5 separate regions of the Homo sapiens genome follow, and regions 1, 2, 3 and 5 are each linked to region 4. Evidence: promoter capture Hi-C in 16 types of primary human blood cells and fetal thymus (Javierre and others, 2016). All regions are on one chromosome and are shown on one strand. Each heading gives the region's core, a stretch centred on a gene start or on the middle of the fragment in contact. The rest is flanking DNA. Distances are from core to core; before and after follow the strand shown. Region 1 holds the start of GSK3A (glycogen synthase kinase 3 alpha). Region 2 holds the start of ZNF524 (zinc finger protein 524). Region 3 holds the start of ZNF784 (zinc finger protein 784). Region 4 holds the start of PNKP (polynucleotide kinase 3'-phosphatase). Region 5 holds the start of KMT5C (lysine methyltransferase 5C).

What was found. The method cuts DNA at HindIII sites, captures the fragments that hold promoters and counts their contacts. A CHiCAGO score of 5 or more calls a contact.
Region 1: the fragment with the promoter of GSK3A here is called in contact with the fragment with the promoter of PNKP in region 4 in 1 of 17 cell types (non-activated CD4 T cells); the score reaches 7.8 in non-activated CD4 T cells.
Region 2: a fragment that was not itself captured here is called in contact with the fragment with the promoter of PNKP in region 4 in 1 of 17 cell types (naive CD8 T cells); the score reaches 5.9 in naive CD8 T cells.
Region 3: the fragment with the promoter of ZNF784 here is called in contact with the fragment with the promoter of PNKP in region 4 in 1 of 17 cell types (naive CD8 T cells); the score reaches 6.8 in naive CD8 T cells.
Region 5: a contact is called between the fragment with the promoter of KMT5C here and the fragment with the promoter of PNKP in region 4, in 8 of 17 cell types (fetal thymus, total CD8 T cells, naive CD4 T cells and 5 more). The highest score is 16.0, in fetal thymus.

What each region holds. Positions count from the first base shown.
Region 1 is chr19:42,241,285-42,246,461 of GRCh38, reverse strand. GSK3A (glycogen synthase kinase 3 alpha) reads left to right here and starts at 3,860. Exons shown (of 11, transcript NM_019884.3): 1 at 3,860-4,279. The coding sequence starts at 3,997. RefSeq lists enhancers at 2,119-2,178, 1,781-2,574, 3,189-3,238, 2,575-3,369, 3,299-3,508 and silencers at 3,799-4,008, 4,039-4,318. The HindIII fragment of the contact is 12,371 bases long and covers 1-5,177 here.
Region 2 is chr19:55,600,286-55,605,178 of GRCh38, reverse strand. It overlaps ZNF524 (zinc finger protein 524), which reads right to left and starts at 4,891. Exons shown (of 2, transcript NM_153219.4): 1 at 4,771-4,891; 2 at 2,041-3,104. The coding sequence starts at 3,066. The coding sequence ends at 2,272. RefSeq lists enhancers at 1-358, 359-910, 2,014-2,564, 4,543-4,893 and a silencer at 4,386-4,893. The HindIII fragment of the contact is 3,453 bases long and covers 358-3,810 here.
Region 3 is chr19:55,621,643-55,626,855 of GRCh38, reverse strand. ZNF784 (zinc finger protein 784) reads left to right here and starts at 2,290. Exons shown (of 2, transcript NM_203374.2): 1 at 2,290-2,372; 2 at 4,212-5,213. The coding sequence starts at 2,295. The coding sequence ends at 5,105. RefSeq lists enhancers at 1,910-2,059, 1,810-2,309 and silencers at 2,130-2,189, 2,260-2,309. The HindIII fragment of the contact is 2,172 bases long and covers 1,967-4,138 here.
Region 4 is chr19:49,866,326-49,871,157 of GRCh38, reverse strand. It overlaps PNKP (polynucleotide kinase 3'-phosphatase), which reads left to right and starts at 3,582. Exons shown (of 17, transcript NM_007254.4): 1 at 3,582-3,689; 2 at 3,941-4,104; 3 at 4,713-4,759. The coding sequence starts at 3,954. It overlaps AKT1S1 (AKT1 substrate 1), which reads left to right. Exons shown (of 5, transcript NM_001098633.4): 5 at 1,098-2,119. The coding sequence ends at 1,241. RefSeq lists enhancers at 499-1,146, 3,345-4,126, 4,127-4,832 and silencers at 1,062-1,371, 3,446-3,745, 3,816-4,185. The HindIII fragment of the contact is 3,228 bases long and covers 3,192-4,832 here.
Region 5 is chr19:55,338,394-55,343,940 of GRCh38, reverse strand. KMT5C (lysine methyltransferase 5C) reads right to left here and starts at 4,065. Exons shown (of 9, transcript NM_032701.4): 1 at 3,984-4,065; 2 at 1,895-2,147; 3 at 1,561-1,726; 4 at 1,090-1,199; 5 at 98-261. The coding sequence starts at 2,004. RefSeq lists enhancers at 1-105, 3,994-4,063, 4,373-5,146, 5,147-5,547 and silencers at 2,489-2,668, 3,914-3,973. The HindIII fragment of the contact is 2,060 bases long and covers 2,509-4,568 here.

The DNA of each region.
Region 1 (5,177 bases), core at 2,611-5,110, 7.6 Mb after region 4:
TTTCATGCCAGCCAGGGTGGGTGGTCCCAGATGATGTCGGTTGGCAGGGAAGAGAGGATCCAGGGCTAGGATACTGGCAGGAAACCGAGGCTCCCGAGGCGGCCTGCGGGAAACTGCTCCCTCTCCTGGGTGATGTAAGTCATTCCCTGGGGTGGGGGCCACTGGGCTATTTCTGGAAGCTGGGATGAGACATGTCTCCTGGCAACATAGTTGCAGCTGAGTTGGTGGTGGTGGTGGGGTGATGGAGAAGGGGATGTTGTCACTCGGGAGGAGAGGACCCTAACTACTGGCCTCAGCCCCTGAACCCAGTGCCTTCAAAGCACCTCTAACCACATCTAATATGGAATCATAAGTGCTCAGCTCAGCTCCCTAACTGCTGTCCAGGTCAGACCACAGCCCTACCAGACAAGTTGCCCCAGATTCTGGCTGTGTAGGATGTCACAGGTGGCATTTGGCCTTGAAAACTCCAGCGGCTACTCTAACCTTTAATCGCCCACCTAAATCTATTAGCTAGCTGGCTTGAAATGTTCCTGCAAGAAGACACCCTTGGTCCCATCCATATCCTCTGAGATCCTTGCTTCCAAGTAGAAAGCCCTTTACAGATGCTCTCAAGGCACTTCACATATTAATTAATCTCATCAGAGACCTCCCTGCTTTGTACGTGTAGCCCCAGTACCTCCACAGACTCTCAAAGCCCCTTCCCAATGCTTCTCAACCATCCCTCACCCCTTCAGGTCGCTCAGAGATCCCCTTGGTCACCAGTAATTTCTGTCTCCCATAGACCTTTTTTTTTTTTCTTTTTTTTCAAAACAGAGTCTCACTCTGTTGCCCAGGGTGGAGTGCAGTGGTGCAATCTCAGCCCACTGCAACCTCAGCCTCCCAGGTTCAAGAGATTCTTGTGCCTCAGCTTCCCGAGTAGCTGGGATTACAGGCGTGGGCCACCACGCCCGGCTAATTTTTTTGTGTGTTTTTAGTAGAGATGGGGTTTCCTCCATGTTGGCCAGGCGGGTCTCGAACTTCTGACTGACCTCAAGTGATCCACGGCCTTGACCTCACAAAGTGCTGGGATTGCAAGTGTAAGCCATCGCGTCCACCCACCCATAGAACTTTTAGCAGACAGCCTAAGTCCCCTCAGGCTTCTCCACTGGTCCCCAGTAATTATCCTGTCAACTAAGCTCATCAAAGACCCCTTCACCACTCCACGGACTCCTCTTAGCCCTTCTAGACACCCATAGGCCTCTCTCAGACGTTTACAACCCTTCCTAGCATCCCTCTATGAACATTCTCATCCTCTACAAACATCCTGATAGATTGCAGACCGTCACCTTCAAACTCCCACGGACCCCAATCCCCTCGTGGCGGTTGCCCACACGCAGCGGCGCATGCCCCACGGGTTCTGGCGGTTAAATAACCCTCGCTATCCTGCCCCATGTCGCCGCCCTTTTGAGCCGTCTTGGTCCCGCGTTGGAATCCCTAGGCCAAGGGGCTCGACTGAAATTTTTACTTTTTGACTCAGAGCTGCCATCAGAGGGCAGCAGGTACCATTTGGCTGGGAAACTGCAACTCCCAGAAACGCCCGCGCCTAGCCGCGCGTGGTGCGGCCACCTGCTTTGTGAAGGGAGCGGAAGTGTTCCGCACTTTGCCTTCTGGGTAATGTAGTCTCAACAGGCTTTGGCGCTACCGACCCCCGCAGTTGTGTCCGCGGGGAATTGCAGTCAGGAACAAACTGAGTGGACAGGACTTTCTTCTGGTTTCAGAAAGGACAGGACAGTTAGTATAAGCACAAGCTCGGATTAACGTGAAGTCCAGAGACTCCATTTCCCACCATTCCAGGATGCGGGAGGGGCTGAGAACGCTTTCATTCTACTTCTAAGTATTTCCGGGGGAGGAAGAGACACATACAGACACAGGAACTCTGTTTCCCAGCGCCTTTTGGGGGCTACTCTCCTTCGGGTATTAATCGATAAATAGGACGACTCACTGAGTACACAAAACCTGAGGCAGCTGGCTTCCTTATTTTTGGCTTTCCGGGATCTTGTAATTTAGGAAGCGGAGGATGCAAAACACAAGAGTGGGAGGCCCGGTGCCGTGGCTCAAGCCTGAAATACCAGCACGTTGGAGGCTGAGGTAGAATCGCTTGAGCCCAGGAATTGGAGACCAGCCTGGGCAACATGGCGAAGCCCACCCCGCTACCCCCCACCACCCCAAAAAACAAACCAAACCAAATTAGCTGGGCGTGATGGTGCACGCCTGTAGTCCCACCTACATGGGAGGCTTAGGTGGGGGGATTGCTTGAGCCTGGGAGTTAGAGGCTGCAGTGACCTGTGATTGCGCCACTGCCCGCCAGCCTGGGCGGCAGAGCGAGACCCTGTCTCAAAACAAACCAAAAACTGAAAACTGAATGGTGGTTCAAGACAGGATTTTTTTTTTTTTGAGACGGAGTCTCACTCTTTTCGCCCAGACTGGAGTGCAGTGGCGCGATCTCGGCTCACTGCAACCTATGCCTCCCGGGTTCAAGCGATTCTCCTGCTTCAGCCTCCTGAGTAGCTGGTATTACAGGCGCCCGCCACCACACCCGGCTAATTTTTGTACTTTTAGTAGAGACGGGGGTTTCGCTATGTTGGCCAGGCTGGTCTCGAACTCCTGACCTCGGATGATCCGCCAGCCTCGGCCTCCCAAAGTGCTAGGATTACAGGCGTGAGCTACTGGCGCCCAGCCTGAGCCACAGCGCCAGGCCCAGAAATGACATTTCCGTCTTTTTAATGCTCCATTCAGCTTCCTGGTGCGAACCACATTGCTAGGAAAAGCTAGACTGTATCCGAAGACTAGTTAGTGTTCTGAGAAACCGCCGGGAACTTTGTTTCCCGAATCTTTGCAGAGTTGCGGTTAGAGAGGGGACATTTTTTCTTTCCTGATCTATGGTCACCTGGAACTTAAAGGTGCTTGGATCCATTTTCCAGCAGTCCTTGATCGACCTCGGCTCTTTCTTAAAGAAGGACCTGGGGGCGAGGAAGGAGGCGCTGAAACACTTTTAAGTCTCTCCAGGGAACTGCCGCAGTCTCTAACCTTTCGTTCACACGCCCCTGATGGTGGCCATTGGACTTCGCTTCCCGGCAAGCCTCCGCAGACTGGCCTCACAGAGGGTCAGGTCTGGACTATTCCCCAGCATGCTTGGAGCTCATGGGCGATCCCGCCCCCTCAGTCAATGGGGAGGATACGTCGAACTCCATTTCCCAGAACACACCAGGGCTCGCTGTGGCAACTGCACTGAGGCCTTGGTGCTGACTACACTTCCCGGCAGGGACTGCGGCCCAGCGTACCTGGAAAGAGGAGCGCGTAAACCTACTCCATTTCCTCGCCCATCTCCGGAACTGCAGTATCCACCTGGGGCTTAAAAACCACCTGAGACTCCATTTCCCGGCGTGCTTTAAAAATCGCTTTACACCTGCAATGCGGTGAGGGCGTGGCGACGACTCCATTTCCCGGCTTGCCTCACGGCCCGAGACCCGCAGGTTCACGCGGGCCGACTCAATTTCCCAGAGCGCACCGAGCTCTGGGAGGCATACACAGCTAATAGACTGAGTGAGTGGACTCCGTTTCCCAGCGTGCATCAGGCTCTCTGCTTCCTAAAGTGCTTCAGGGCTCCCCGTCGTACAGTCGGCTGACAGATTACCCTGGACTCCATTTCCCGACGTACAGCGTGACCCGTCATTCCCGCCCATCATTCCCGCGGTCTACTCTGAGGCTTTTGTGGACTTCATTTCCCGGCGTGCCACGCGGCTCTCTGTGCGGGCCGAGGGCGGTGACGGCGGCGCGGACGACAGCCGGACTGCATCTCCCGGCGTGCCCCGCGGCGGGCGCTGGGCCGGAGCCGGAGCCCAAGCCAGAGCGGCGCGGCCTGGAAGAGGCCAGGGCCCGGGGGAGGCGGCGGCAGCGGCGGCGGCTGGGGCAGCCCGGGCAGCCCGAGCCCCGCAGCCTGGGCCTGTGCTCGGCGCCATGAGCGGCGGCGGGCCTTCGGGAGGCGGCCCTGGGGGCTCGGGCAGGGCGCGGACTAGCTCGTTCGCGGAGCCCGGCGGCGGAGGCGGAGGAGGCGGCGGCGGCCCCGGAGGCTCGGCCTCCGGCCCAGGCGGCACCGGCGGCGGAAAGGCATCTGTCGGGGCCATGGGTGGGGGCGTCGGGGCCTCGAGCTCCGGGGGTGGACCCGGCGGCAGCGGCGGAGGAGGCAGCGGAGGCCCCGGCGCAGGCACTAGCTTCCCGCCGCCCGGGGTGAAGCTGGGCCGTGAGTACTAGTGGCGCCCGTGTAGGGTGGTGATTAGGGTTCCCAAAGCTCCTCAGACATCCATCAGATTCTTTCATGTGCTTAGATAGGAGCTCGAGGTCACTGTGCCTCCCCATACCGGGGATCCGAGCCCTCTTCCTCCCAGGAAAAGGAGTCTTGGGGTTACCATCTCTTGGAGATCAGAATTACTCGTGGATCAGAATTACTAACACTTAAAGAAACGGGTTACAAGTCTCTGTTCTTCCATTATTGAGGTCTTGGGTCCTTGAGCCTTAAGAACAGGTATCTGATGTTGCTATTCATTATAATATTGGATCAGAGGTCACAGTCGCTTGCAAATGGGGATCTAGGGTTATTGTCTCCTAAGAGAACAAGAATAAGACCAACCCCGAAAAAGAGGGATCTGCATTCCCTGTCCTTCAGAAGATGGGGATTTGGAGCGAATATCACTTAGAAGCAGGGCTTTGAGGTTACTGTGTTTTGTCCCCAAAGAATAGGGCCAGGCTTTCCAAACCTGGTACTCAGATCATCTTCCCTATTAAAACCAAGACCTGGCATCATTACCCACCCTAAATCTTGTTGAGCTGTACTGCCAATGGTGAGAATTAATAGTTACTGCCTTTTAGATATAAAGACATTGGGAGTCAGCATATCCTTCAAACCAAGTCCATAGTCCATGTTTTAAAATACATGGCTTGGTGTGTCTCCTTTAACAAAAATGGAATGGAGCAGGGTAGGTCACAGTTTCCTACAGAATATGGATCTAAGGTTATACTTTTTTAATAATTGTTCTAAGGTATGGTGTCATTGGCTCTGAAAAAAAAAAGTGATGTAGGGTTATCTCCCTCTGAAAGAACTTGTCACTGGCCCCTCAAAATGGATTTGGTGGCCGGGCGCG
Region 2 (4,893 bases), core at 835-3,334, 5.7 Mb before region 4:
GCCCCGCCCCCTCCATCCAAGCCCCGCCCCTTCACCCCATAGCATTTAAGTTGCACCTCGTGACTTTTGAGTGCCTCCCACCTCTAAAGCATTCTTTTAAATCGGTGGTTGTCAAGGATAGTTGGGAGGCCAGCAGCATCCGGCTGCCTGCTCAGACCATGCGGAATAGAAGCCCTGGGGTTGGGGGTCTAGGGATCCGTGTTTTGAAATACTCTGATTCTGCTGCATGCTGGTCAAGAGCCATGGATTTACCACACTTGACACTGCCCGCTCATATAATCGCTATAATCCCGGCTCCCAACTCAGCCCCATCCCAAACAGCCAAACCCAGACCCATTCAGCCCCTCCTGCTAAGCTTCCACTCTCCCAGGAACTTCCCTTAGATTAAGTACTTCCTTCTCTCCCCATCGCCTCCATAGCAGTCGTGCGCCCCCATCAGCACCTTCTAAGTCCCACCTCCAATACCCTGTTCCCTCAGAGTTTCTCCTTTAAGCCCCGGCCCCCGGCCCTCGGCCCTGAACCACGCCCACCTCAGAGCTGAATTATTATAAGCTCCGCCCCTCACCTTAAAATCCGTTCTCTTGGCCTGGCGTGGTGGCTCACGCCTGTAATCCCAGCACTTTGGGAGGCCAAGGCAGGCGGATTGCTTGAGCACAGGAGTTCAAGACCAGCCTGGGCAATATGGCAAAACCCCGTCTCTACAAAAAAAAAAAATACAAAAATTAGGCTGGACGCGGTGGCTCACGCCTGTAATCCCAGCACTTTGGGAGGCCGAGGCGGGTGGATCACGAGGTCAGGAGGTCAAGACCAGCCTGGCCAAGATGGTGAAACCCCGTCTCTACTAAAATTACAAAAATTAGCCAGGCGTGGTGGCGGGCGCCTGTAATTCCAGCTACTCGGGAGGCTGAGGGAGAGAACTGCTTGAACCCGGGAGGCAGAGGTTGCAGTGAGCCAGATTGCCCCACTGCACTCCAGCCTGGACGACAGCAAGACTCCGTCTCAAAAAAAAAAAATTAGCTAAATATGCTGGCGCCCGTCTGTAGTCTCAGCTACTCCGGAGGCTGAAGCAGGAGGGTCGCTTGAGCCTGGCAGGTCGAGGCTGCAGTGAGCGGTGATAGGGCCACTGCACTCCAGCCTGGATGACAGAGCGAGACCCTGTCTCAAAAAAAAAATTATCCGTCCTCCTTGCCCCACTCTCACGCAGTTCCTCCTGTTCTTCCCCAGCTCCAAGCCCCTACTCTCTATTAGATCAACTCTATCCATCCTCTTTAAACCGCTCTCACTTTCTGCGGACCAACCCCTAAACCTCTTTAAGCCCCACCCAACTCTAACCCTCTTCTAAGCCCCCGCCCCAGGTCCCAGCCTAACTGCCCCGCAATCTCAGCCCCACCCCTCGCTCCTTAGCCCCGCCCCAATCCACACCCCTTATCTCTAAACCTTACCCAGACCGTCCTGCTCATACCTTTGTCTTAATTTTTCCTTCCAAACAGTAGGTCCTCAGGACAAGGAGGTGGGGCAAAGTGGCTGCAGAATTTCTGGGAATTGGCTAGGAGAGAGGCGGTCGGACCTACAGTCAGGTCTGCATGGAAGGTTCAATGTTTTTAGTTAGATTGGATGTGTACTGGGAATACAGCTGACCCTTGAACAACAGGGGTTTGAACTGCAGGTCCATTGAGAGGCGGACGTTTTTTCACCCAAACACCGGTGGAACATACAGTATACGAAGGGCGGATTTTCCTACATCCGCGGGTTCCGCAGGGCCCACTGCTGGACTTGTGTATGCCCAGATCTTGGTATCTGCGAGGTTCGTGGAACCAATTCCCCGCGGACTCCGAGGGACCCATGGACTTTGGGGTCTGATGGAGATGGGGAAGGGGCCAAGGTTCCCCCCAAAACCATTCTTTGGCGAGCACCACGCTCATGAGGCACAGGAAGTGGGGTCCTCTCCAATTCCCCGCACTCCCGACAGGACGGTGTAGCCGAGGAAGAACATTTGAAGGCAGGAGAGGATGGCATCCCGGCACGGAACACACACAGGCAGCCAGCAGGCAGAGATTTATTTCCACAGCCCCTGCCTCCAAGGGTCTGTTAGTCTGGGGGAGGGGGGCTGAAGGCAGCTGGACCCCAAAGTTTAGGTCTCCACCCTCCACCTGCTCCCACAACGGGAAGACCACCGGAAACAAGGGTGTCCCGGCCCCCTGGCTCAGGCCCAGCACCAGCCAAACTCCCTGCTCTAAACCTGGCCCAGGGAGCGATGGCCGGGGGTGTGGGTCAGGCCGGCTCCCCTTTCCCCTCTGTCTCCTCCTCCTCCTCGGCCCCTGCTGTGGCCGGGATGCCCTCCTCGTCCCACGGCGGTTCAGACCCTGGATCTGGTGCACACAGGGGTACCCCCATGGCCTCCGGGTGCTTGCGCTTCGCATGGCGCCGGAGCGTGTTGGCCTCTGTAAAGCGCAGCCGGCAGATGGGGCACTGGTACGGGCGCTCCCCCGAGTGCACGCGGTGGTGGTGCGCCAGCTCGCCCGCCTCGCGGAAGCGGCGGGGGCACAGCGGGCAGCGGAAGGGCCGCAGGCCGGCATGGATGTTGCAGTGCCGCCGCAGGTGGCTGGAGCGCTTGAAGGTCTTGCCGCAAACCTTGCACTGGTGCGGCTTCAGCTCTGAGTGCGAGATGCTGTGGCGCTCCAGGTCGGAGAGGTAGGGGAAGGCCCGCAGGCACACCGGGCAGAAGTGTGGGGCCTTCCTGGGGCCAGAGCCCTCAGGCCCAGCCGCTGAACCTTCAGAGACCGTATAGGGCACACCCTGATCATCGATCAGGAGGAGGTCGCTCCCGCCACTGCTGCCTACTGGGGCTGTCACCCCCTGCACCTGCACCAGTGGGGGCTCCTGCCCTGACTTGGGGGGGCGGCCCCGCTTGCGAGGGAGGGAGGCCTTGAGTGTCCGATTTGAGGAGGTGGCTCCCCCAGGACGACGGCCTCGGCGGCCCCGGGGAACAGGAGGAGATAAGGCCAGAGGTTTCTCTTCCTCCCCGGGCAAAGGCGAAGGCAACGGGTCTGGGCTGGGGGTGTCCATTGAGCAGTGGGGGGCTTGGGTCTGGGCACTGGAGCCAGCTAAGAGGAGAGAGGGGCAGAGTCAGTGCTCACAGGGTCTAGAGCACCCCTGTGTCCCCCAACACCTCGCCCATCCCTCTCTCCAAGTCTCTTGACAAAGGTGTGTTTGACATTCATCCAGATACACAATTTTAGCTATGCTGGTGGGTAAAACAGTGAGATGATCTTGTATCAGCTGATAAACAGGCACTTCCCTGAGCTCCACCAGACATCCCTATGCCTCCCTAACTCTCCTTCTGGATCTAGAAGTTCAAGATCAACATGAGCAACACCCCTCCCCACCTCCCCACAAAAAAAAACCTTCCAGAGAGGATAGAGTCCAACTGAGAGTGCAGACCAGTATTGTGATCCTTGAAACGGAGAGCCCATCAAACTCCAGAGCCATAGAGGCCTCACGAATGCTCTCATCCCTCCCTGCTGACTGGCAGAAGTGGGGAAGGGGTTCCAGAGTGGAAAAAAGGGACTGGTCCCAGGTGATATTTGACCCTGATTCCTGGATGAGGAAACATATCTGCGATGTTAAGAGCCTGGGCCCTGGAGTCAAGACATCATTCGTTCAAATCTTTACTCTCTGCGTGGCCTTGGGCAAGGTGTTCGCTTCTCTAAGCCTTAATCAAGACTTTTGCAAAATGGGACACATAGTTCTACGTACTTGCCCAGACATGCCATGAGCATAATACCCACAAAGTGTTCATACACAGAAGCTTTCAGGACACATTAGCCATTGTTATCAGGAGCAGCTAAGCCTCACATCAACCCTCTGAATAGGGCATATCTGTCCCATTTTGCAGATGGGGAAACTGAGGCACAGGAAAGCCAAGTCAGTTGCCTAAGTTCCTCTGCCAGTAAATGGCAGGGCCAAAACTGGAAACAGGTCTTGTGACCCGAATGTCCCAGAGAATGGAGAACAAATAAACCCAAGGAGGAAAGGGGACATTACGAGGGCTCAGTCCTGGGTTTGAATTCAGCTCTGCCTATAACTAGCAATTGACTTTGCCAGTTTCCTCCTCTGAAAAGTGAATAAACCAGGGTTGTCAGGAGAATCGAATAAGACAGTGGGCTTTAAAATGCCCCTCGAACACTGCCTGGTGCACAGTAAGCACTCAATAAACTTCACCAACGCCACCACCATCTTCCCGGCGCCCACTCAGATACTGGGAGCATGGGATTGGGGTGTAACGGAGGGGAAGGGGAGGCACAGGTGCAGCTGGAAGCAGGTGCTGCAGGTGCCCCCCTGCACCCCCCCCTCCCCTTTAACAGCCACATAGACTGCTGTCCAGAGAGGAGCAACCACCTTTCCATACGGTTCGCTCCCACGGGGTAGCCTAGTCTAGGAGTCTGGTCTTTGGAACGGTGGAAAGGGGGAGACTGGTCCCCCGACCCTCCCCGTCCCCTCGCCCCGGTACTGACGCGCCCATCGGCCCCCGAGCTGCGAAGCCCAAGCGCGGGGCGGGCCCTGCGGGGGCGACGGCCAATGAGCGGCGCCGGGTAAGCGGGCGGCGGGGGCTGCCAGGAAGGGGGTCTGCGCGCGCGCGCCCGGACGGCTTCGCGGGGCGCGAGCGCGGGAGCAGGAACAGGTGTTGGAGGCGCGCTCCGGGAGCGCGCGGCCCGGCCTCCCCTACCCCCACACCCCCCCTCCCGCCTGCGCCCCCCGCCTCTCGGGTACCTCATTTGCATGTCGCCGGGGCTCGCGAGTGTGCGCGCGCGCGGGGGCAACGGGGCCGGCGCGTGGGAAGGGGAGGGGGTGAGGGGGCCCTGCCCCTCGGCGGCGGCGAGGCGGGGGCGGCGG
Region 3 (5,213 bases), core at 1,041-3,540, 5.8 Mb before region 4:
ATAGACCAGGCGCAGTGGCTCATGCCTGTAATCCCAGCACTTTGGGAGGCCGAGGCGGGCCGATCAGCTGAGGTCAGGAGTTTGAGACCTGCCTGGCCAACATATGGTGAAACCCTGTCTCTACTAAAAACAAAAAACAAAACAAAACAAAAATACAAAAATCAGCTGGGCTGTAACACCCTGGGAACAAATCCGAACGTTCCTTCTAAACCAACGCAGGCCGACTCGAGGCTCTAGCAGTCAGTGGAAGACCTCAGCGGAACTGAAGAGGCTTTGCTTTGTTTCCACAGTAAAGGTTTTTGTGGTTACCTCTGCACCACTTGCGATAACGTAATGACGTGTCACACCTGTAGTCCCAGCTACTTGGGAAGCTGAGGCAGGAAATTTGTTTGAACCAAGGAGGTGGAGGTTGCAGTGAGCTGAGATCACGCCACTGCACTCCAGCCTGGGCTGTTTCTCAAAAAAAAGAAAAGAAATGAAATTATTTCACACCCAAGAGATTAGCGAACATTTTAAAGTTTGAGTATCAGATATTGATAGGAATGTTAAGCAACAAAGGTCCCTATTTATTGCTAGTGGGAGTGCCAAATGGTAGTAATTATTATAGCTAACTCATAGCACCTGCTGTGTGCCATACATTGTCCAAAATACTTTATATATAATGACTTCTTTAATCATCATAGCAACTGTGTAAAGTAGGTTTTATTATCACCCTCATTTTGCAAATTAGGAAACCTGGACAGAAAGAGCTGACTTAAGCATTAGACACAGTAGTAGATACAGTGCCTAGGGCCCATGATACTCTTAGGGACCCACAACATTTAAAAATTTATTTTAGGCCGGGCGCAGTGGCTCACACCTGTAATCCCAGCACTTTGGGAGGCCGAGGTGGGCGGATCACCTGAGGTCAGGAGTTCGAGACCAGCCTGGCCAACATGGTGAGACCCTGTATATACTAAAAATACAAAAATTAGCCGGGCATGGTGGCGGGCACCTGTAATCCCAGCTACTCAAGAGGCTGAGGCAGGAGAATCGCTTGAGCCCGGGAGGCAGAGGTTGCAGTGAGCCATGATCATGCCACTGCACTCCAGCCTGGGCGACAGAGTGAGACTCCATCTCAAAAAAAAAAAAATTATTTTAAAATCAAAAGAAAAGAAGGGAAATATAGCTTTGGAAGACCAAGGCAGAAGGATCGCTTAAGGCTAGGAGTTCAAGACCAGCCTGGGCAAGGCAAGACAGCAAGATCCCCATCTCTATAAAAGAAGAAGAAAGGAGGAGGAGGAGATAATTCAGCCTAAGTGGTGTTTATCTTTATTTTATACCAACATATCACAAAATATAATTTCATATATATTTATGAATGAAATGATCATGCTTAGGATCATGTTTAAGTATCTCCTATCCTGCCCTTTCAAGAAAACTATTTAAAGATGTTTCCAAACTCTTCCATGTCTCTTCTCAGTGGTTTGTCACAATGCTTCTACAGTGCTACACAAAAGAAAGAGAAATGGTCCAGAGAAGTGTAGTGACTTATCCAAGGTGATACCACCAGAATGACTAAACGGGGCAGCTAAGAAGAGCCCCGTCCTTGATGCTGCTGAAAACCCCGCGTTTTTGAGCTCTTTCCTCCCAAACATAACATCAGCTTGCGGGTTTTTGCGTCCTCCCAGGACCACCTGTGTTGCTGTTTACTGAATATTTTTCTCCACACTGCCTTTTTTTTTTTTTTTTTTGACAGAGTCTCTGTCACTCAGGCTGCATGCAGTGGCGAGATCATGGCTCACTGCAGCCTCGACCTCCCGGCCTCAAGCGATCCTCCCACCTCAGCCTCCCGAGTAGCTGAGAATACAGGCATGAGCCACCGCACCCGGCCTACACCGACGTTTATAAACTTGGCGTCATTACGTTGTCATGAGCAGTGCAGAGGTAATCACAAAAACGTTTACCGTGGAAACAAAGCAAAGCTTCTTCAGTTCTGCTGAGGTTCCCCTGACAGCCAGAGCCTCGAGTCGGCCTGCGTTGGTTTAGAAGGAACGTTCGGATTTGTTCCCAGGGTGTTACAGGCATCCTAGCGCCACACAGAGCGTACCCTCGGAGGGACAGACAGGTAATTAGAGAGGGAACAACTCACATTCTCCCGGGCTCAGCCGCCACGCCCCGCCCCGCCACGCCCCCTGCTGCACCACGCCCCCTCGCAGCCCCGCACTGCGCCTGCGCAGTAGCTCTTACGCCAGTTCGAGCCCCACCCCCTTTCAGAGCGAACATTGGCCTTGGGGGCGGGGCTTGGGCACAAGATGGCCGCTGCGCGCCCAGAGGCCCAGAGTCGGAGCTCACCGACTCCGGAGTCGCGATCCCAGGAGCCACTGGACCTGGTGCGGGCAAGGAAGGGGCCTGGGCGTGGGGCTCGAGGTGGGAGGAGGTCGTAGTGTGGGGGGCGGGTCCGGGGCGTGGCCTATGAGGGGGTGGGCGAGGGAGGTATTTAGTGCTATGGCCCTGGGGGTGGGGCTTCTTGTGGTTTCGCGAGGGGCGGGGCAGGGGAGGAGACTATGTCATGGTGGGCGGGGTGGGGGAGGGACCTATGGGTGGTGGGCGGGGCCTGGATGGGGGCGGAGTCTGAGGACGGTGTTGTCTTGTGGGACGGGTTTGGGTCCAGGGAAGGGGGCTTACCAGGGATAATTTGCATAATTTGGGTGGAGCCTTGTAAGGGGCGGGGCCTCATAAATTCTAGGGCTAATTCTAGGGTAGAAGGTTGGGAAGGTGACCCTGAAAAACGTGGGGGATTATGATTGGAGCACCTATGTCGGGGTAGGGGATAATTCTTCAAGGGTCTTAGTGATGCTTCTCGAATGCCCAAGGGAGAATTTGGGGGTAGAAGTGGGTGGTCTAGGTGACTTTGGAACTTCCTCCACGTTACCCCACTCAGAATTAGACTAATTGAGGACATTCATTCATTCAACAAACATTTACTGAGCTCCTACTTCGGCTCTGTAAATAGAGAAGTGACCAAGACAGACAAGGGTTGTGTTCTTTTGGAGCCTGCAGTCTCTTGAGAGGAGAGAGACAATAAAGGAGAGTTACTGTGATATGTTCTATAAAGGAAATAAAAATTGAGCCAATTTCTATAAATTGAGCCAAGAGTAGGGGTGGGGCAGCTAAATTTAGACGAGAGAAGTCAGCTGGGTGCCGGCTTATGTTTAAGCTGGGGTCAGAGAGATAAGTGGAGCTACATCGCCACAGATATTATAGTGACGATTTGGGATAAGTCATTTGGAGCCACTGGAGGGTTTTGAGTGCGAAAAATGACTTGATCTGATTTACATTTTCAAAAGACCTTCAGGCTATTCCTGGGAGGTGGGTTACAAGCCAGCAGAAATAGGAACAGAGATGCCCTTGGGTTTTTCAATTTTGGAGGCGCCAAGTGATGGGGCTTTAACTAGGGTGGAGGACAAAAGGTGGGATCCATGATATATTTTGGACAGGAGAGGAAATGTTGATGAGGATACAACAGAATCCTGGAGGATGGGCCGGGCGCGGCGGCTCACGCCTGCAATCCCAGCACTTTAGGAGGCAGAGCCAGAAGGATCTCTTGAGCCCAGTAGTTGGAGACCAGCCTGGGCAACATAGTGGGACTCCCTCTACATTAAAAATAATAATAATAATTTTTGTTTGTTTTGCTGTCTAAGATGGAGTCTTGTTCTGTCGCCTGAGCTGGAGGGCAGTGGCATGATCACATCTCACTGCAACCTCCACCTCCTGGGTTCAAGCGATTCTCGTGTCTTAGTCTCCCGAGTAGCTGGGATTACAGGCAGCAGCCACAACACCTGGCTAATTTTTGCATTTTTAGTAGAAACGGTATTTGCCATGTTGGCCAGGCTGGTTTCGAACTCCTGACCTCAGGTGATCTGCCTACCTCAGCCTCCCAATGTGCTGGTATTACAGGCCTGAGCCACCGTGCCCAGCCAGAAATAATTTTTTTTTAACTAGCTGGATGTGGTGGTGCATGCCTGTAATCCCAGCTACTCAGGGAGATGAAGTGGGAGGATCGCTTGAGCCCAGGAGGTCAAGGTTGCAATGAGCCACGATCGCGCCAGGGCAACAGAGTGAGGCCCTGTCTGAAAATAACAGAGGAGCCCAAGCTTTAATAATTGGGGCGTGCTGGGGCGGTCCTGAGGCAGGTTCCACAGGCTCCTCTTTCTTCTCCTCTTGCCCAGGTCCTGGTGCCTGATGACTGCCGGCCTGGCACACCCCCGAGTGACCTCATCGAGATCCAGGTGGTGAAGGTGACGGACACCACGCTGGTCCCTGAGCCCCCGGAGCCAGGTTCTTTCCACTGTGCCTTGTGCCCTGCTGCCTTCCGGCTGGTTTCCGAGCTGCTGTTCCACGAACATGGCCACTTGGCTGGGGCCGAGGGAGGCGGGCAGGGTGGGGACCCGAGCCGGTGCCACGTGTGCGGCCACAGCTGCCCGGGCCCCGCCAGCCTGCGCGCGCACTACAGCTTGCACACGGGGGAGCGGCCCTACCGCTGCGCGCTCTGCCCCCGCGCCTTCAAGGCCTTGGCGCCCCTGCTCCGGCACCAGCACCGGCACGGGGTGGAGCCGGGCACCTCTCGGAGGCCTCCGGACACAGCGGCCGTTGCAGAACAGAGGCCCGGGGTGGCCCCGGAGAGGGCGGAGGTGGTGATGGCGGCGGCGGCGGCGGGCGCAGCGGTGGGGAAGCCTTTTGCCTGCAGGTTCTGCGCCAAGCCCTTCCGCCGCTCCTCAGACATGCGAGACCACGAGCGCGTGCACACTGGCGAGCGGCCATACCATTGCGGCATCTGCGGCAAGGGCTTCACCCAGTCCTCGGTGCTTAGCGGCCACGCCCGCATCCACACTGGCGAGCGCCCGTTCCGCTGCACGCTCTGCGACCGCACCTTCAACAACTCCTCCAACTTCCGCAAGCACCAGCGCACCCACTTCCACGGGCCGGGGCCGGGGCTGGGAGACTCTGGAGGCCAGCTGGGCTCGTCGGCGGCTGAGGGGTCGGGGAGCGGGTGTGGGGTAGGGGACCCTGCGGAGGAGGGGCGGGGGGAGACCGCGAAGGTGAAGGTGGAGGCCGACCAGTAGGCTGCAGACCAGGGACATGGGTTAGTTAAGGCGGAGGTACGAGGCCGACCCGGGGAGGGGGACGGGGTGGGGAAACGGAGGCAGGGGACAGAAGAGGGGAGATTGGGG
Region 4 (4,832 bases), core at 2,333-4,832:
CTTGTAGCAACCCCTGTTTGAAGCTCCTGGGCTGGGCTCTGCTGGCCTAGGTGGGTCCTCCTCACCCTTCACTGAGCCTCCCTGAAGCAGAGGGGAAACTGAGGCACTGAGGGGACATGTGACTTCCCTGAGAGGCAGAGCTGGGACTGGAACCCAGGTGTGTTTCAGGAAGGAGCTGTGGGCTTTGAGGGAGGAGGCCTGGGTCCCCACAGTCCCCCCCTCAAGCCTCAGTGTCCTTATATGCAAACCAGCAGTCACAGTGGTGACCTTTTCTGTGCATCCTCCCTCAATGAAGCAGTGAGCACTGAAGACCAGGAACAGGGCCTGGTGCGGGCGGGGTCCACCTGCTGCTGCTCTCTGTGCTTGCGACTCATGGCAACACAGTTAATTGAATGCTCTGGCCTCTTGCGTGCTGTGCCCGGGGGCTGGTCTCCCACTGGGCTCAGGTCCAGTTCCTGATCTGGGTCTCCGGGTCCCATCCTGCGAGGGGACAGGCCCAGCTCCGGGTGACGGGGGCTGTAGTGGAGGCAGTACTAGGTGCCAGAACTGCAGGCTCCTTGGCGGGGGCTGACACAGCGAGGGATCTTTTCTGTAGCGCAGTGGCCACATGATAAGGCAGTAACAGCTGATTATCTCAGCCCTCACAGAGACCCTGTTATCCGCCCCATTTTTCAGAAGGGGAGACTGAGGCCTAGGGAAGCAAAACCTCTTGCTCATAGTTTGTCAGCGGCAGAGGTCTGATTGGAACATGACTGAAACCCCAGCCCAGATCCTCAGACATGAGACGGTGCACTCAGCCTTAATGGCTAGCAGGCAACAGCACTTCCACTGTGTAGGAAGCAATGTCCTAGGCCAAGAAGGGGAGAGGGAGAGGGGCAGGTAGGCTTCGTGGAGGAGGTGTCTGAACCGGGTAGAAGGGTTCCTACGTGGAGCAAGACGGGGAGGGGCACTGCTGGCAGTGGGCATCGCAGGGCACAGGTGGCAGGGCAGGGACGTGCTAGAAGTGGGCTTGGAGCCCGGGTGCACCCCTGGACCGCGTGTGGGTGCAGGGGGATTGCCCTGCCGGCGCTGACCTCGCCCCGTCGCCGTCCCCGCAGCCCTCTTCGCCCGACCTGGACCGCATCGCGGCGAGCATGCGCGCGCTGGTGCTGCGAGAGGCCGAGGACACCCAGGTCTTCGGGGACCTGCCACGGCCGCGGCTTAACACCAGCGACTTCCAGAAGCTGAAGCGGAAATATTGAAGTCCAGGGAGGGAGCGCCCCGGGCCGCGTCCGCCCCGTCCCACACTACGCCCCCGCCCCACTCCCGGGGCCTGCTAATCTGAGGCCGATCCGGGACCGGCCTCCTTGCGTCTCCCATTCCCAAGATTGTCCCGCCTCTGCCAATCCCCGCCGTCCTTCCAGCCCACGACCTGCCGCGCCGAGGAGCGGCATCTGTCCCGTTTCCCGATTGGGTCTGTCGTCTCTCTCCGCCTAGCGACAGATTCCTTCTATTAAGGGATTGGCTCGCTGAGTTCTAAGCTCTAAATGGGTCAACTCCTTTGTTTTCCGCCTAGCGACAAGGGATTTGCTCGCACGGCATTGGCTCCATCCCCTAGTCGCTGGACAGCTCTTTTTTTGATTGGCTCAAATCCTGTAAAGGGCTTGACCAGTCTCTACATAGTCACCGTCCGCTTTTCCTGAGTTCTCCCTCCCAATTGGCTCCAGCTTCCTGGGGGCGTGGCCAAGCCCTCCTCTTCCCAGAATTGGCCCGGGGCCTTCAATTTACGTTCTTTACACTACGGGGACTGGGGTCGTCTTTGCCCACGTCCCGACAACTTGTTCCCTGACCCCCTCAGGGATGGCCCCAAACTGTCCCTGCCTCTGGCACCCCCTTTCATTGGTTCCATCCATCCCCACAACAGCCTGCCAATCGAAGCCCGTCCCTGCATCCAGGATGGTACCAGCTCCCGCCCCTCGCCCCCCACCTCCACAGGTGCCTTAAAGGGCCCTCGTCCACCCAAGGTGGGGGGCAGGGGCCCTCACTCTCCGGCCCTGGTGTGGGGGAGAGAGTGAGGGGTTGGGGGATCGGCAGTTGGGAGGGGCGCTCTGAGATTAAAGAGTTTTACCTCTGAGATAAATGTGAAGTGTGTTGTGAGTGTTCATTCAACATTTTCTGAAACCGAATGGCAGCGTCTGATTATCAGTGAATAGCTGGGGGTTGGAATTACTGTGCCCATTTTATTTACTTTTTTGAGACAGGGTCCCACTCTCGCCCAGGTTCAAGCGATTCTCCTGCCTCAACCTCCCGAGTAGCTGGGATTACGCGCCACTGCCGCCCGGGTAATTTTTGTATTTTCAGTAGAAACAGGGTTTCATCATGTTGGTCAGGATGGTCTTGAACTCCTGACCTCAAATGATCCACCCGCCTTGGCCTCCCAAAGTGCTGGGATTACAGGCGTGAGCCACGGCGCCTGGCTTTGTGCCCATTTTATAGATATGAAGACACAGGTTCATGGGGTGGAGGAGAGCATCCCAGTCTTATGTGACCATGGAACCCAATCTTGAGGAGGTGAGTGTTGGAGACAGAGCCCACATATTCACCAGCAAAGCCAGGAACTCCAGCCGGGAGTCTTCTATTATAAAAGGACTGGAGCAACTGGGCTTGGTGCCTCACGCCTATAAGCCCAACACGCTGGGAGGCCAAGGCGGGAGGATCACATGACACCAGGAGGTCGAGATCAGCCTGGGCAGCACAGTGAGACCCCTTCTCCAAAGGGAAAAAAAAATGGCTGGAGGTTAGAAAGCAGGTGGAACCTCGTCCGAAATTAGGACTAGGTAAACGTAGTCCCACCAGACCACTACCGAAAGAATGCTAACACTAAATAAGACTTAAACGGATCTGAGCACTTTGGGAGGCCGAGGTGGGCGGATCACGAGATCAGGAGATCGAGACCGTCCTGGCTAACACGGTGAAACCCCGTCTCTACTCAAAATACAAAAAATTAGCTGGGCGTGGTGGCGGGCGCCTGTAGTCCCAGCTACTCGGGAGGCTGAGACAGGAGAATGGCGTCAACCCGGGAGGCGGAGCTTGCAGGTGAGCCGAGATCGCGCCACTGCACTCCAGCCTGGGCGACAGAGTGAGACTCCGTCTCAAAAAAAAAAAAAAAAAAAGACTTAAACAGGGCTCACTACCACCCATTTTTTAAAGCTTTTGTCACGTGTTAGCTCCTTTAATCGTCATGGTAACCCCACGAAGCGGAAACGATTATCCTTTTTATAGATGAGGAAACTAGAACATCGAGGGTGAAGCCAAAGAAGGACTTAGGGGCGCTGTCGGGGGCGGAGGTTTCCTCGACTGACAATGACCATCAGATGGGAAAAAAATCTTCCTCCCTGGGATGAAAATTAGAAGTCAAGGTGGAAAGAGGCAAATCTGCTAACGGAGGATCCAGTCCCCGCTACCGGCCTGAGCCTCGCGTTGCAGCAAGAGAGATGAAGGTCAGGGCTGCCGAGAGACCCTGGGGGCCGGGAGTCGGGGAAGGGGCGTGGCTGCTGTGGGAGGAGGCCAGGCCCCGCCCCCCACCCACGAGGGGACGAGTCATTTCCGTCCGCCGAGGAACCGACCGCCGCCGGCCGGGTTGCAGGCGGGGCACCTCGGGCAGGACCTCCCTGGTCGGAAGTGGCCGTGAGCCCAAGCCGCGGTCCCGGGTGAGTACGGGGCGGGGCGGAGGCATGTGCGAGGCTCTCTGCCTGTACGCTGGAAAGTGGGGATTGCAACTCGGGGAGGGATGGAGCACGCGTCGTCGCCTGGGAAACGGGTCGACCCGCGGAAGGCGAGCGGGTGGGACTTCCGGAGCAGTTAATGGTGGGGAAACTTTCTAGTGGATGTGGGAGGAGGCGGGACTTCCTGCAGCAAATTGGGGCTGTGCGCCGCTCAAGCCCGTTTACCTGCTCCCCAGGCCGGCACCCAGGATGGGCGAGGTGGAGGCCCCGGGCCGCTTGTGGCTCGAGAGCCCCCCTGGGGGAGCGCCCCCCATCTTCCTGCCCTCGGACGGGCAAGCCCTGGTCCTGGGCAGGGGACCCCTGACCCAGGTTACGGACCGGAAGTGCTCCAGAACTCAAGGTGAGCGGGGCCTGAGCTGGAGGGGGTGTGGCCTGCTGCAAAAGCGGGAACAATCCAGAGGGACGCTTGGCTGCTACGCGGGATTGCAGTGGTGCAGCCAGCCCCGAAGTCGGAAGGTGCTCTCTAGGGAGTACAGGAAGATAAAGTTTGTGCTTGATTTAGAATTAGCTAGATCCTTTGGGGGAGAGGGGATCGAGCCGATTTAGGGAGGATGTTCACTGCGCGGATGATGCTCAGGCCATCGGGAAATCCAGAAACAGGCGACGACCTTCGTCAAGAGAAAAATGATCCTGTGGAGAAAAGTAAATGTCGCTAGGTTGGGATGGATGGTAACAGGCCAAGCCCCGGACCTATATCTAGCCACATTTTTTGTCAAGGAGGAAACCAATTCTGTAGAGAAAAGTACCTCCCTGTCCCTTGCAAGGACCAGTGTCAGGCAATCCTAGTGCCACTATCTGGCTACTGCATGTCAAGGAGCCAATCCCATGTAGAAATAAACTGCCTCTTACTCCCTGGATGCTATAGCCTGAAGCAGGCCACACTCCCCAGAAATGAGGGACCCAATCACACAAGGATGCAAATCCTGACTCCACCCCTCCAATCCTCAGTGGAGCTGGTCGCAGATCCTGAGACCCGGACAGTGGCAGTGAAACAGGTATCAGTGCCTCTGCAAGGGCCAGCAAGGCCTGGGGATGGGATTTGGGGAGGAATTGCAAGCCGTCAGTGAA
Region 5 (5,547 bases), core at 2,816-5,315, 5.5 Mb before region 4:
ATGAGCTCGGCAGCTCAGTCGCAGAACCCTCCCACTACACCCCTCCAGCCCTGCCTGGCTCTATCCCGTCCTGCCCATCCACCTGCCTGACCCTCACCATGGTTGATGAAGGCGGCTGGGCCCAGCCACAGCTGAGCACTCCGCTTGCGGGTTGAGTACATGATGCTGAAGTCATTCTCACCGGCCCTCAGCAGCCCCTCATCTGCCTCCCGCAGCTCTGCAATGCAGCCCACCAGCAGCTCCAGCTTCTCATTCTTTTTCCTGCCAAGAGGCCAGGGGGCAGGGCTGTGGGCGATGCCTGGCCTCCTGCAGGTGTTCAGGGGACTCGGGCCTCCGGCACAGAGGCACCCAGGAAGGAGGGACTCCTGGGCGCTGGTGCTGGCTATTGGCGATCCATCTTCCAGATCTCCCTCTTCCCCTCCTGCCTGGGTGGGCTTCCCTGCTCCAGCCCACAGCCCCACAGGACCCTTCTACTGAAAGCCTTCAGGGCAGCACGCACACAGCAGATACAGCCCCCATTCTCTCCCCTCGCTCTCATAGCACCTCCTGCCCCCAAATCCCTCCTGCCTGGACTACCCCCTACTCGCCCCACCAGACCCTCAGGCGGGTGCTTCCCCTGTCAGTGTGAGCCTCGCCCTGGGAGCACTTGCTCATTCCTCACAGCTCCCCTGCAGCATGTACCAGCTGGGACCAGTGACTGCATGTTGACTTGTCTGCCCCCCACCTCCTCACCAGACTGTGAACCCCGCAGGGGCAGGGGCAGGGGCTCCTCATTGCACTCAGGGGTGTTTAACATGTGGTGGGGGCTCAGGTCACAAGGAGGTAAGGACAGCACGGCCCTGACCAGAAGCCTAGTTCTTTCCTGGAAGCCCCAGGAACCCTGGGGTCACATCCGGGGTCTCCTGCTCCAGCGGCACCACGGTAGCCACAAAGGTCTTCCGGGATTAGCCCCACCACCTTCCTAGGATGCCCGGAGGACCAGGCCCCTCGCTTTTCCCCGGTTGGCCAGTCCATGAACAGAGGGTCTCTCTTGTCCCCTCTGAGCTCTGTCTCCTCCAAGGATACCTGCAGGGAGTCCTGCCCTCTTACCAAGCACGAGTGGACACGATCTTGGCCCCGTTGGTCTCCATGGAGTAGCGCGTGCAGGGCAGGATGGTAAAGCCACTTTCCGGCAGGAAGGCACGGAGGTAGCGATAGACCTGGTGAGGGTGAGGGTGGGGGTGAGGAGGCGGGGCAGGGGCATCTTTGGCCCTCTCTCTCCAGGACTCTAGGCCTGCCATGCCACTGACTCACTGTGTGGTCTTGGGGGCCTCATGTTCCCTCTCGGGGCCTCAGTTTCCTCATCCGTCAAATGAAGAGGTTGGACTACATCTCAGAGGGCCCCCCCAACTCTCCTCTCCTAGGATTCTCTGAGCCTTGCCTCAGATGGTCCCAAGGGCTAGGAAGTCAGGGGGCCCCAGGGGCTGCGCTGAGGGACTCTAGAGCGTCTGCCAGGCGGGACCAGGCCCGGTGAGCGGGGAGGACACGCGGTGAGGGCGGGGGAGGGGAGGGCGCCCTCACGTGGGTCTTGAGGGCAGCCTCCTGCCGCGGGCCCCGGCTCTGGAAGTAGCGGGCCGTCCAGCCTCCCAGCGTCAGGGCCCGGTACGCAGCCTCCAGGTCCCGCTGCCTCAGGAAAGTTTCCAGCGCTGAGCGCAGGTGCTGCTGTCGCCGCAGGGGGGGCACAGGGCTGGGGGAGAGGGCATGCCTGGGTCCCAGGGCCTTCCCGGGCCCCGGCCCCAACCCCCACTTGGAGCTGAGGGGAGGACCAGGCTAAGGAGAGGGCCGAGGGGCGGCAGCGGTGCAAGGGGAGGGGTCCTGACCCCTCGGGCCCACCCTCGCCCCCAGGCCACCTCACCTGACGTTCATCTTATGGGTGCGGAAACCGAGGTAGGGGTCCAGGACGAGGCTGGTGGCCAGGTCGTCGTTCTCGCACAGTTCTCGTGCTGTCACTCTGTCGGGCCCCATGGTGCCCTGCGGACCATGCTGCCTCTGGCAGAGAGCAGGAGCAGGTGAGGGCAAGGCAGGCGCGGGGAGCCTGGCTTGGTGCTGACTCCACTCCCACGCTACTCAGAAGCCATGGGGGACGCTGGTGAGCCCCACGATCTCATCTGCAAAATGGGGAGAAAAGCAGTGCTGACTTCACCAGGCCGCTGGCGAAGATGGAATGCAACAAGTACTTCTGAGAGTAGGGAAAGCCCAGAGCCATGTCAGCCATCGCCTTAGCTCTTGCTCTTGCTCCGCAGCGCAGACACAGATCCCCCCTAAACACACAACCCCCACATGCACACCCATGCACACTCAGACTGACACACGCAGATGCCCCTGCCCATATGTACAGAGACCCCCTACACACACACATCTCTTTGGGCCCAGAGAAGGCTGACTGATTGGCAGCCGGGATCACCCTAAAGGCTTAGCACCGTGGGGAGCCGCTTCACCTCTAGCCCTCAAGGAGGAAAAGTCAAAGCTTCCCGCCAGCCCGAGGTCCCGCCCTCCACCCCCACCTCGACCCAGCCTCGGTCTCCGCCCCCTGCCTCCCCGGCAGCCTTCGGGAGTGGTCAGGAGGCTCCGGGTGAAGCCCCAGGCAGCCTGGAGGCGGGTGACGGGAGGGAGGGCAGGGGAGGGATCCCAGCACCTGCTCCCTCTCCAAGGATTCCAGGGGAGGGGGGCTCAGAGGACAAAAGCGGGGGTGGGGAGGGGAGCAAAGGAAGACTATGGGGAGGCAGCACAGGTCAATATTTACAAAAACATTTTTTTAAAGCGGAGCCAGGAGAGAACGGAGAGATGAAGAAAACCACCCAAACCCCTAACCCGGACGGAGGGCCAGCCTCGTCCCCGCACCACGGCGCTCGAGGCTCATCCGCGCCCAGGAGAGGAGGAGATGGGGCAGGGCAAGGAGCGGGAGCTGCAGAGACGGCTGTGGAGGGGTCGGGGACAGACTGCGAGGCTGCGGGAGAGAAAGAGGGGGCGCTGCAGGAGGACGCCAGGGACAGCGGGGAAGCTGGAGAGGGGGCTGGGGGCAAGGAGAGAAACGCACAGCGGTGGGCACGGCAGGGGGCTGTGGGAGGGAGAAGGCTGCAGCCGGGCCTGGGGGCGCTCAGAGGGGTGTGAGGAAGGGATGGGGGTGCCAGGGAGGACAGAGAGCGGGGAATGGCCTAGGGACTCAGGGAGGAGCCAGACGGGAGACCTGGGTCGGGGGGCGGTCCAGGGATGGCGGAGAAGATCCTGGGTGTCCAGTGAGTGAAGGGCCTGAGAGGGCGGACAGGGGCCCAGGGATCCAAACGGGCTTGGTGGGGTCCTGGGGGATCCAGGAAAGGGAGACCCTAGGGAAGGGCCTGGGGACCCAGGGAGGCGCCTGGGTAGGCGGTGAGAGCCCAGGGCAAGGGACCTGGAGGGTCAGAGGCCGACCTCAGGGTCCAGGGAGTGCCAGGAGAGGGACAGAGGGGTCAGGGAGAGGTTCTAGGGCACAGAAAGACCTAGAGGGTCCAGAAGGAGGCCTGGAGGGTGAGAGGAGGTCGGGGATTGGCCCTGGGAGTGCAGGGAGGTCCCGGGGGTGAGAGAAGGGTCAGGGAGAGGCCCTGAGGGTGCAGGGAGAGACCTGGGGGTGCAGGGAGAGGCCTGGAGGGTGAGGTCAGGGAAAGGCCCTGGGGGGTGCAGGGAGAGGCCTGGAGAGTGACAAGAGGTCAGGGAGAGGCCCTGAGGATGCAGGGAGGGCCGTGGACGTAAGAAGGGGGTCAGGGCCCGGGTGAGGAAGCACAGGAAGGAGGCTGCAGTGCCGCGGAGCCCGAGGCCCGGCGAGGGGCCGGGAGACGTGGGCGCCTGGACACGAGGAGGGGCCGGGCGGGGTGGGGGGCAGTCGGGGCAGGGGGCGACTGGGGAGCCAAGGCGGCGCGGGGCTGGGGCCGTGAAGGGGCTCAGAGATCGGGCCCCGCGCCGCCCCTCACCCGCTTCTCCTCCTCCTCCTCAGGCGCCCGCGCCGCCGCCGCCAACACCTCCCACAGCCTCCTTCGGCTCTCGTCAAACACTGTCGCCGCACCTCCCATCTGCTCTCCGGGCCAGCCCCGCCAAGGCCACTGAGGCTTTCTATTGGCCACAGCCACCGCCACTCCTCCGTTGCTACGAAGCTCACGGCGCTCCCATTGGCCAAGCCCCACTCTTTCCCTCCGCGCCCGGCTCTCGTCAATACACAGATAAAACCCCGCCACGCCCCCGCCGCCGTCAAACGCCGCGAACTGTTGTCAGTGGTTCACATCGCTGTCCTTTAGTCGCTGCCATGGAGACTTGTCCCGCCTTCGCTCACACTGGGGCTCGAAATCGACGCACTCATTGGCCGAAAGCGCAGTCTCTCCGGGCGAAACTCGGTTTGGGTCGGGTTATTCAGGTCCAAGTGGAAAGAGGGCGGGCTCTGCCAGCTCCAGTAGTCGTATATGATTGCCTGGCCTTGGGACAGCTCCTCTTTCCATTGGGTAAGGCCTCCGTCCATCACCATAGAGTCGCGGCCTCCCTCTTCTATTTCTCCGAGGAAAGCTTCGGCCACAGGAGGGAGAAAGCCAGACCCGGCGGGAGGGAGGCGGTGAATGCGCGCGCACCGCCATCCCTCTCCCCTCCCGCCCCGCGAGGCCTGCGGTTACCAAGGCGACGAAACTTTATTGACAGCTCTGCCTGGCTACAAAGGGCTCCTCAGTCTCTCTCCCTCCCTCCCCGTTTACACCGTTGCGTTTTGGGAGTATCCACACGCACTCTGTGGGACCTTCCCGCGATATGAACGGGGTCGGATGGAGGGAGGGGAGGCTGAGGGAGGAGTGGGGACTTTTGAGACAAGCCCTGACTCCTGGGGCGCTCCCCTGGGGCACCCCCTAATTGGGATCACCCCCCCTACCTCAATCCTAGAGGCAAACGTAACTAACAATTCATCATAATTACGCCGAGAATAATAAGCTCCACACTCAGAACAGGCGGTCTTTGTTTGCTTGTTTGTTTGTTTCGCCACAGCCATTCTTCCCTTAACGACACTGATACCATCTGGGCAGTGCGTGCTCAGGCGATGTCGTCATCCTGCCAGCATCCTAGAGCAACATCACTCACACCTACGTGGCAGGGCTGCTGGCACCTGGGCTGTAAGGTGGCCGGCGGCTCCTGGGCCACACAGCTGTGCAGCATGTTACTGTCCGGTAACACAATGTAGGCGCTTGTGTGTCTACACATATAGGATCACTGTCAGACATGCGCTCCACTGTACAGCTATAGATCGTGGGCACTTAAAACAATGCATGCCACAGAGTAGGTGCTGTTTTGGTGTGCTGTTTTTGGTGTTTTGGTGTGTGTGTGTGTGTGTGTGTGTGTGTGTGTGAGAGAGAGAGAGAGAGAGAGAGAGAGAGAGAGAGAGAGAGAGAGAGAGAGACAGAGACAGAGTATCGCTCTCTCGCCCAGGCTAGAGTGCAGTGGAGTGATCTCGGCTCACTGCAGCCTCTGCTTCCCAGGTTCAAACGATTCTCCTGCCTCAGCCTC